Linked DNA regions of Homo sapiens: region 2 is linked to region 1. Evidence: promoter capture Hi-C in 16 types of primary human blood cells and fetal thymus (Javierre and others, 2016). All regions are on one chromosome and are shown on one strand. Each heading gives the region's core, a stretch centred on a gene start or on the middle of the fragment in contact. The rest is flanking DNA. Distances are from core to core; before and after follow the strand shown. Region 1 holds the start of ZNF565 (zinc finger protein 565). Region 2 holds the start of VRK3 (VRK serine/threonine kinase 3).

What was found. Contacts are between HindIII fragments. The CHiCAGO score rates a contact against its expected background, and 5 or more counts as called.
Region 2: the fragment with the promoter of VRK3 here is called in contact with a fragment that was not itself captured in region 1 in 2 of 17 cell types (fetal thymus and total CD8 T cells); the score reaches 6.8 in fetal thymus.

The regions. Positions count from the first base shown.
Region 1 is chr19:36,213,534-36,217,228 of GRCh38, reverse strand. It overlaps ZNF565 (zinc finger protein 565), which reads left to right and starts at 2,564. Exons shown (of 5, transcript NM_152477.5): 1 at 2,564-2,607. It overlaps ZNF146 (zinc finger protein 146), which reads right to left and starts at 2,123. Exons shown (of 4, transcript NM_007145.3): 1 at 2,033-2,123. RefSeq lists enhancers at 1,880-2,069, 2,180-2,609. The HindIII fragment of the contact is 1,032 bases long and covers 1,345-2,376 here.
Region 2 is chr19:50,023,615-50,027,309 of GRCh38, reverse strand. It overlaps VRK3 (VRK serine/threonine kinase 3), which reads left to right and starts at 1,938. Exons shown (of 15, transcript NM_016440.4): 1 at 1,938-2,043. It overlaps ZNF473 (zinc finger protein 473), which reads right to left and starts at 1,305. Exons shown (of 5, transcript NM_015428.4): 1 at 1,188-1,305. RefSeq lists enhancers at 1,152-1,201, 1,612-1,661, 2,002-2,081, 2,131-2,632. The HindIII fragment of the contact is 2,425 bases long and covers 1,301-3,695 here.

The DNA.
Region 1 (3,695 bases), core at 611-3,110:
AGTAGCCGGGTGTGGTGGCAGGCAACTAATCCCAGCTACTCGGGAGGCTGAGCCAAGAGAATCGCTTGAACCTGGGGGGCAGAGGTTGCAGGGAGCAGAGATTGGGCCACTGCACTCTAGACTGGGCAAGAGAGAGAGACTCCATCTCAAAAAAAAAAAAAAAAAAAAAAAAAGACAGGGACTGGCTGTCCACCAAGCTGGAATGCTGTCGCCAGGATCTCTGCTCACTGCAGCCTTGACCTCCTAGGCTCAAGTGATCCTCCCACCTCAGCCTCCCAAGCAGCTAGGACTACGGGAGATCTCACTATGTCGCCCAAGCTGGTCTCTAACTCCTGGACTCTAGCCATCCTCCTGCCTTGGCTCACAGGTGTGAGCCACCAAGCCCGGCCTGAGGCTTTATATTTAAAATGTGTTGGGTCCCCATCTCCCCACACCTCAACGCCTTTTCTTTCTCAGTCTGTACTGGCTCTTGCAGCTTGTCTCTTTCCATAGTAAGTCTAGGATCAGTTCCCCTAGTTCCAAAAGAGAAAAGCCTGTCCATACTTTTATTAGGATCACATTATTACTATTATTGAGACGGAATCTCGCTCTTGTCCAGGCTGGAGTGCAGTGGCGAGATCTGGGCTCACTGCAACCTCCGCCTCCCAGGTTCAAGCGATTTTCCTGCCTCAGCCTCCGCGGTAGCTCAGATTACAGGCGCCCGCCACCACGCCCGGCTAATTTTTGTATTTTTTTATTTTATTTTTTTTTAGTAGAGACAGGGTTTCACCATGTTGGCCAGGCTCCTCTCGAACTCCTGATCTCAGGTAATCCACCCATCTCGGCCTCCCAAAGTGCTAGGATTACAGGCATGAGCCACCGCACCCGACCAAGATCACAGTAAATTAATACATTCACTTAAGTTTGCGCACACTTCTTAATGTCACATGGTATATTTATTTGTTCACATTTGTTATGCCCCTTAGTAGTATTTTAAAGTTCTTTCCTAATAGTTCTGAACCTTTAAGTTTCTTCCACAATACTTTATCTTTTTACTGCTATTGTAAATATTAGTTTTCTTCAACTATGTATTCTAACTGATATTTGTAAATTAGAAGGCTATTTATTTATAGATATTAACTTGGTACCCAATTACTTTATTTAACTTTTTGTAATTTAAAACTATGTCAATGACGACAGCGGGGGCGGGGTGATTTCCTTAGAAAACGCATCTTTGGAGACGTCAGTAGCATTCTCCATTACTTCACAAAATCCATACAACCTGAGAACGCCTCGACTCATTAAGGAATTAAGACACCTAGGATTTAGTCCAGACTCATAGATAAACACTGCAACAATTAAGCTTTCTTCAAAAAATGAGGATAACTGTGCCTAACCTAAAACCGTTGACTCCCTCATCCTGGGCGCCGTTATATGGGATTGCTTCTCAAAGCGTACAATGCTGTTTAGTCTAGGGCTTTGCTTAACAGCCCTATTTAAGTACCCCAAAGATGGGGATTTGAATAGTCTGAAGTAGGCACCCCGAAACTAAAGTTCCTTCGAAACACTCTCGTTTAATTAAAAAAAAAAGTCACGGTGATTTGCATGCCACTCCAATTAAAAAGAAATGCTTTTATATAAAAACTCGTTTTAAAATTATTCACCACTTAGCTTTTCCACCCCTTCAATTTTCAAGTAAAAAAGACGCTCCAGGAAGATGGCACCGTTATAATTATCAGCACTTTCGACAAGGGAAGTGCAGCTCAAACGTTATACCTCAATGCTGGTCTCCTACATCTCCCTCTTAGGCACAATCACACACAATCCCGCACCCAGTTTCACATTCACTCAACAATCCCAAACATCAGGTCAAACTTTGAGGACAAACTCGGTCACACTCGCTCAAACCCGCCTCAGAGGCCCCCATCTCCGCCCCGCACGTAGGCCAGAAGCTCTTACACCCACTCCCTGCCCTCGCGCCGCGCCCCTAAAGATCAGGAATCCTCCCCTTTAACCTCCCCGGTCCGACCGACCCGAGACGCCCAGATCCCACCTCCTACTTTCGCGCCACGTGGACCCAGGGGCCGTACTGACCCGCGGACAAAGACCAAAATGTCCACTCGGTGCGCTGCGCTTGCGCACTCGGAGAGCGAGGAAGCACTCCCAGAAGTCTCCGCGACGCGGCCCGCCTCGGTCACCGCGGCCAGGCCCAGGCTGGTACTGAATTACCTTCTATTACCAGCAACGTCGCTTCTCAGGCCTTGGACTACATTTCCCTTGAGGCTTTACTGGTCGACTCTCTGTCTCCTCCCCTCCCCCCGCGAACTTGGCCGCCTCCTTCTGTGACGATGGAGCTCTTGAGGTAAGTAGTCCTTTAGCGTCAGATGACTTCAAGCTTGCTGGAAGGTCTGGAGTGGCGACGCCCTCTCCGAAGACTCGTGGGCGCAAAAATGTCAAAACGAGCCAGGCCCCGACTCAGAGATAAGAGAACGCCATTCTGTCCGTGGCCGATCTAGCTCTGGACTACAATTCCCAGAGCCCACAGCGGCCTGACGTTACGTCGTTCTTGACGTCGTGGCGAGCTAGTTAGCTCCGCAAGGACCCGGACGCGACCAGGGGAGGCAGAAGGTGAGGGGTCTGGGAGTCCTGGGCGGGGCCGGGGCGTGTCCGGAGCCTCGAATCTGTGCGCGCAGGCGGGAGCTGGCTGCGGATGCGCCGTTCTGAATGTGTCTTTGTGGCTGTGTGGCTGGGTGTGGGTGTCTGCAACTGTGCACGTGTAACCGCCTGTCTCCAGGGTGTCTGGTGGTTTTTGTGTAACCATGTGTGATAGAGAGTATCGGGGTGCAGGGTCCTTGTGACCGGGGGTGATACTGCGTGTGTCCCCGTTGTATATGTGGCCTGTTCGCCCTGTTCCTGGGGTGTGAGTACAGTTGTGACTGTGTGACCACTGCGGGTGTGCGGTTGTGATTCATGTCTCCAAGGTGTGTGCGTGGTTTTGGTTGTGTGACACTGTGGCCGTGTGCAATTGCCTGTGCCTGTGACTGTGTGGTGACGCCGCTTGTGTATTCCTGTATCCCTTGGTGTGTGTGTTTGTGTGTATGTGTGTGGTGCTGTGTATGCGGGAGTGGGGTGCCACTGCTTGTGTGGGTTGCTTGTGTGAGTGTGACTGTGTGTATGTCCACAGTGAAAGTTCAGTTGTGACTGGGTGCCGTAAAGTACCAGTGATGGCGTGTGTCCCCTGAGTGGGTGTGTGACTGTGACTATATGAGGCATTTGTGGGTGTTGGTGTGTGGGGCTTGTGACTATACGGGAGTAACTGTATCACAGTGGAGAGTAGATTGTGTGACTGGGTGTGTCTTAGCGGGTGTGTGATTGTGACTGGAAAGATATTGTGACTGGAAAGGTATAGAGGTGTCTGTGATTGTGTCCTGTGTCTCAGGAGTGGATGTAGGGCCGGGTGTGGTGGCTCACATCAGCCCTTTGGGAGGCCGAGGTGGGAGGATCACTTGAGCCCAGGAGTTCGAGACCAGCCTGGCCTGTACAAAAAAAAAAAAAAAAAATTAATGGCTGGCACGGTGGCTCACACCTGTAATCCCAGCACTTTGGGAGGCCGAGGCGGGTGGATCACCTGAGGTCAGGAGTTCTAGACCAGCCTGGCCAACACGATAAAACCCTGTCTCTACTAAAAATACAAAAATTAGCTGGGCGTGGTGGCA
Region 2 (3,695 bases), core at 689-3,188, about 14 Mb before region 1:
TAAACTGACCGCAAAACTTCACCTGGATTGCCACAGGCCATGTAGGGTCTTAATGTTCTCATAAGTGTGAATATTCACACCTTGCCCCACAGAAACATTTTATGACCAAAAACTGGCCCAGATTCCTCGGGGTGTGGGGGGGTGCTGCCTAATTATAAAATATGCACCCTATTAGCTTTCTAAAATCTGAAAAATTCTGATTCCCGAGATTGCCTTGGTGCCAAGGGGACCTGCACTTATGTCTCAGTGCTGCTGCGGGGATCAGAAGAGGAAATGCAACTCCAGCAGGGCGCCTGGCACACAGAAAGCACTCAAATACTGTAAATGTTAAGTACTTCAACTTCCCGAAGAACTCCCATCCATCGTCCAGCAAGATTCTGCCTAAATTTGCCAACTTCAGGTAACTCATTCCCCTCCTTCCCCAACCAAAACCAAAATAAAACAGAACCACTCCTCTCAGGGCCATCAGGGAGGCCTGGAAACCCCTTTAGCAGTTTTCTTTTCTTTTCTTTTCTTTCTCAGCTCACTGCAACCTCTGCCTCCTGGGTTCAAGCAATCCTCCCACCTCGGCCTCCCAATTAGCTAGGAATACAGGGGCGCACCACCACGCCCGGCTAATTTTTCTATTTTTTTCTTCTTTTGTGGAGACAGGGCTTCACCATCTGGCCCAGGCTAGCCTCGAAATCCTGGGCTCAAGCGATCCGCCCACCTCAGCCTCCCAAGGTGGTTTTCTTCCTTTCTTTTTTTTTTTTTTTTTTTAAGATGTAGTCTCGCTCTGTCACCCAGGCTGGAGTGCAATGGCGCGATCTCGGCTCACTGCAACCTCCAGCTCCTGGGTTCAAGCGATTCTCCTGCCTCAGCCTCCTGAGTAGCTGGGATTACAGGCCCCCGCCACCACGCTCAACTAATTTTTGTATTTTTAGTAGAGACTGGGGGTTCGAGGAACTCCTGGCTGTAAGTGATCCCCCCCGCCAAGGCTTCCCAAAGTGCTGGGATTACAGGCGTGATCTACCGTGCCCAGACCTTGAGCGGTTTTCATAACAGACTGTGAAAGACGGTTCACACCTTCACCCTGACAACCGCCGCCCAAGGCGACGCACCCTTTGCCGAAGTCGCCCCCACTTGCATTCCGTCACCTCTCAGGAAGGACCGAGCCCGCAAGTCCCTCAGCCCCAGCGTCTCCGTACCTCGGGATTGTAGTCGGCCGCGTCAACAGACGCAACCCCAGCCTCAAGGGAGCGGGAGATTCAACTCCCCGCACACGCGCCTCCTCGCAGCGACTTCCTGTGCGCGAGAAGCTTCTCTGAGCGGCTGCACCCAGGATCCTCCGCGGCAGCGCCAGGACTCTATTTCCCAGAGGGCTGTGCGGGCGACTTCTTTCGCCTTCCCATCTCCTCCTGCTTCTTCAGCCTTAGCACTGTGGGAGTAGAGTAGAAAGAGAATCAGGACCAGGCGGCATCAGTTTGTAGTCCAGATTTTTACCTTGTTAAAGAATCATCTAATTAGCTTCTTGCCTTTACTAGAAGTCAGGGAGTGTTAACCTTTTCCGAAGAGCAAGCGGTAGGTTGCCATGGAAACGCGTTGTGACGGGTTTCTGAGAAAACAAGCGGAAGTAAGGGGCGGAGTTGAGGCAGAAGTTTAGGTAATGTGACCTCTGATTGGTGGAGAGGTACCTCACGGTGCATTCCGATTGGTCTGACACTGACACATGCGCAGTAGAACCAGAAGGCGTTCCAAAGCGGCTAGAACGGAGGGGAGGGGGATGAGCAATGAGGGAATAATCCCCATTCCGTCTGGAATCAGAGGGCGGGCCTGCCGCGGAGGCATCTGGGAAACGGAGTTCCCAGGCAGGCGAAGCCCAGGGGCCGTCAGGAAGTCAGCGGCGCCTGCGCGGGCGCCTCAGATTCAGGATGCGCGCGCAGCGCTCTCCGCCCAGCGGAAGTTTTCGCTGGGCAACTGAGAAGGTGAGTCCGGGTAACTGCGGAGGATCCGAGGGTCAGGCTGCAGAAGCCCAGAATCCCACCCCAGTCCCCAAGTACAGAGGTGAGGGGAAGCGAGGCGAACGAGGGGACGTCCCCCGACCCCCTAGCCGCAGCTCGGCCGGGGCGTCCGTGACGTCAGCACGACCGTTTGTGGGAGGCGGAGGCCCCTGCTGTCGGGGTTCGGAATGAGAGCGGCTCCGGGTCGCGGGGTTCACTGGCCTCCTCTTGAGCTTCCCAAGCCACCTTGGGCTCCGTGTTGGGCATGGCTAAGGCGGAGATGGGCGGAACTTGTGGGAAGTTCGACAGCTCCTCCGCTGTGAAACTTGGCGTCTAAGTCATCCCGTGGTTTCTATGGAGGTGCGGCCGAAGGGAGGCTCTGTCGTCGCCTAGGCAATCGCCCCACCTGCGCTGAGGTGGGGTCTGACTTTTAGCCTTTTTGCTGTGCTGTTTCCTGAACTTTCTAGGAGGAACACTATACAGTAGTTGACGCATAGCAGCTGTTCCCTAAACATTTGTTGAATAAGTCAAATAAATTAAGATAAAGACTGGCCTGAGGGTTGGAGTCTTAGGGTTTCAAGTCCTGACCTGGCCATTGCATAGGTGACTTCAGCACATCCAATTTTATTGAGCGTTTACTATATGGAAGGCTCCGTGCAACCGATATTACACTACTATAACCTGGGTTTGAACGGTGCTAGTCTAATAGGCACTGTTCAAGCCCAGGTTATTATAGCAGTGTCTAAAACAAAAATCCTGCCCAGCTAATTCACATTCTCAGGGTGGTTGGGGATGCCAGACACTAAAAAAGAAATGTTAAAGAATATTTACAGGTCTGCAGTCCCTTATCTATAACTTTAAAATCCAAAACGTTCTGAAAACTGAAAGGTCTTTTTCTCTGTTTTGCAACTTACTTGGCAGGCCAACCTCACCTGGCTTTGAACTTGTTTGCTGGCAATACCCACTCTGAACTGATGTGTGACTATTTAGAATTTTTAAAGATTTTGTTGTGCAAATCATATACTTATGGAGAGTTGCCCCTGGATCTCGCCGGTGTTGTAATATGTAATAGGTTCTAAAATCCAAAAAATTTGGCTGGGCACGGTGGCTCCCGCCTGTAGTCCCAGCACTTTAGGAGACCGAGGTGGGCGGATCACCTGGGTTCAGGAGTTCGAGACCAGCCTGGCCAACATGGTGAAACCCCATCTCTACTAAAAATAAAAAAATTAGCCGGGCATGGTGGCATGCGCCTGTAATCCCAGCTACTCGGGAGGTTGAGGCAGGGAGAATCGCTTGAACCCAGGAAGCGGAGGTTGCAAGTGAGCTGAGGTCGTGCCACTGCTCTCCAACCTGGGTGACATAGCAAAACTCTGTCCATCATGCAATACATGGCAGAAGCAAGATCCAAACCCAGGCAGATTATTTCCCAAGTTTATCCTCTTAACCCCTGTACTGATCTGCTTCTAAGTGGCACGTCTTTTTTAGGGACCATCCAGCTAGATAATTCCGGCCCTGAGCTTTGAGTCTCTGGCTGGATGTCTAGATTTGCCTGAGAGATGAATGTGTACTGACACAGCTGGGGACCCCCCCCACCCACCTTCTTGGCACATTTTCTTTTGCAAAGGAGACAATGATTTATTCACTCAGCAGACGTAGACCCAGCATTTGCTCTGTGCCAGGCCTGTTTGAGGCTCTGGGCACACTGTGGCAAACAAG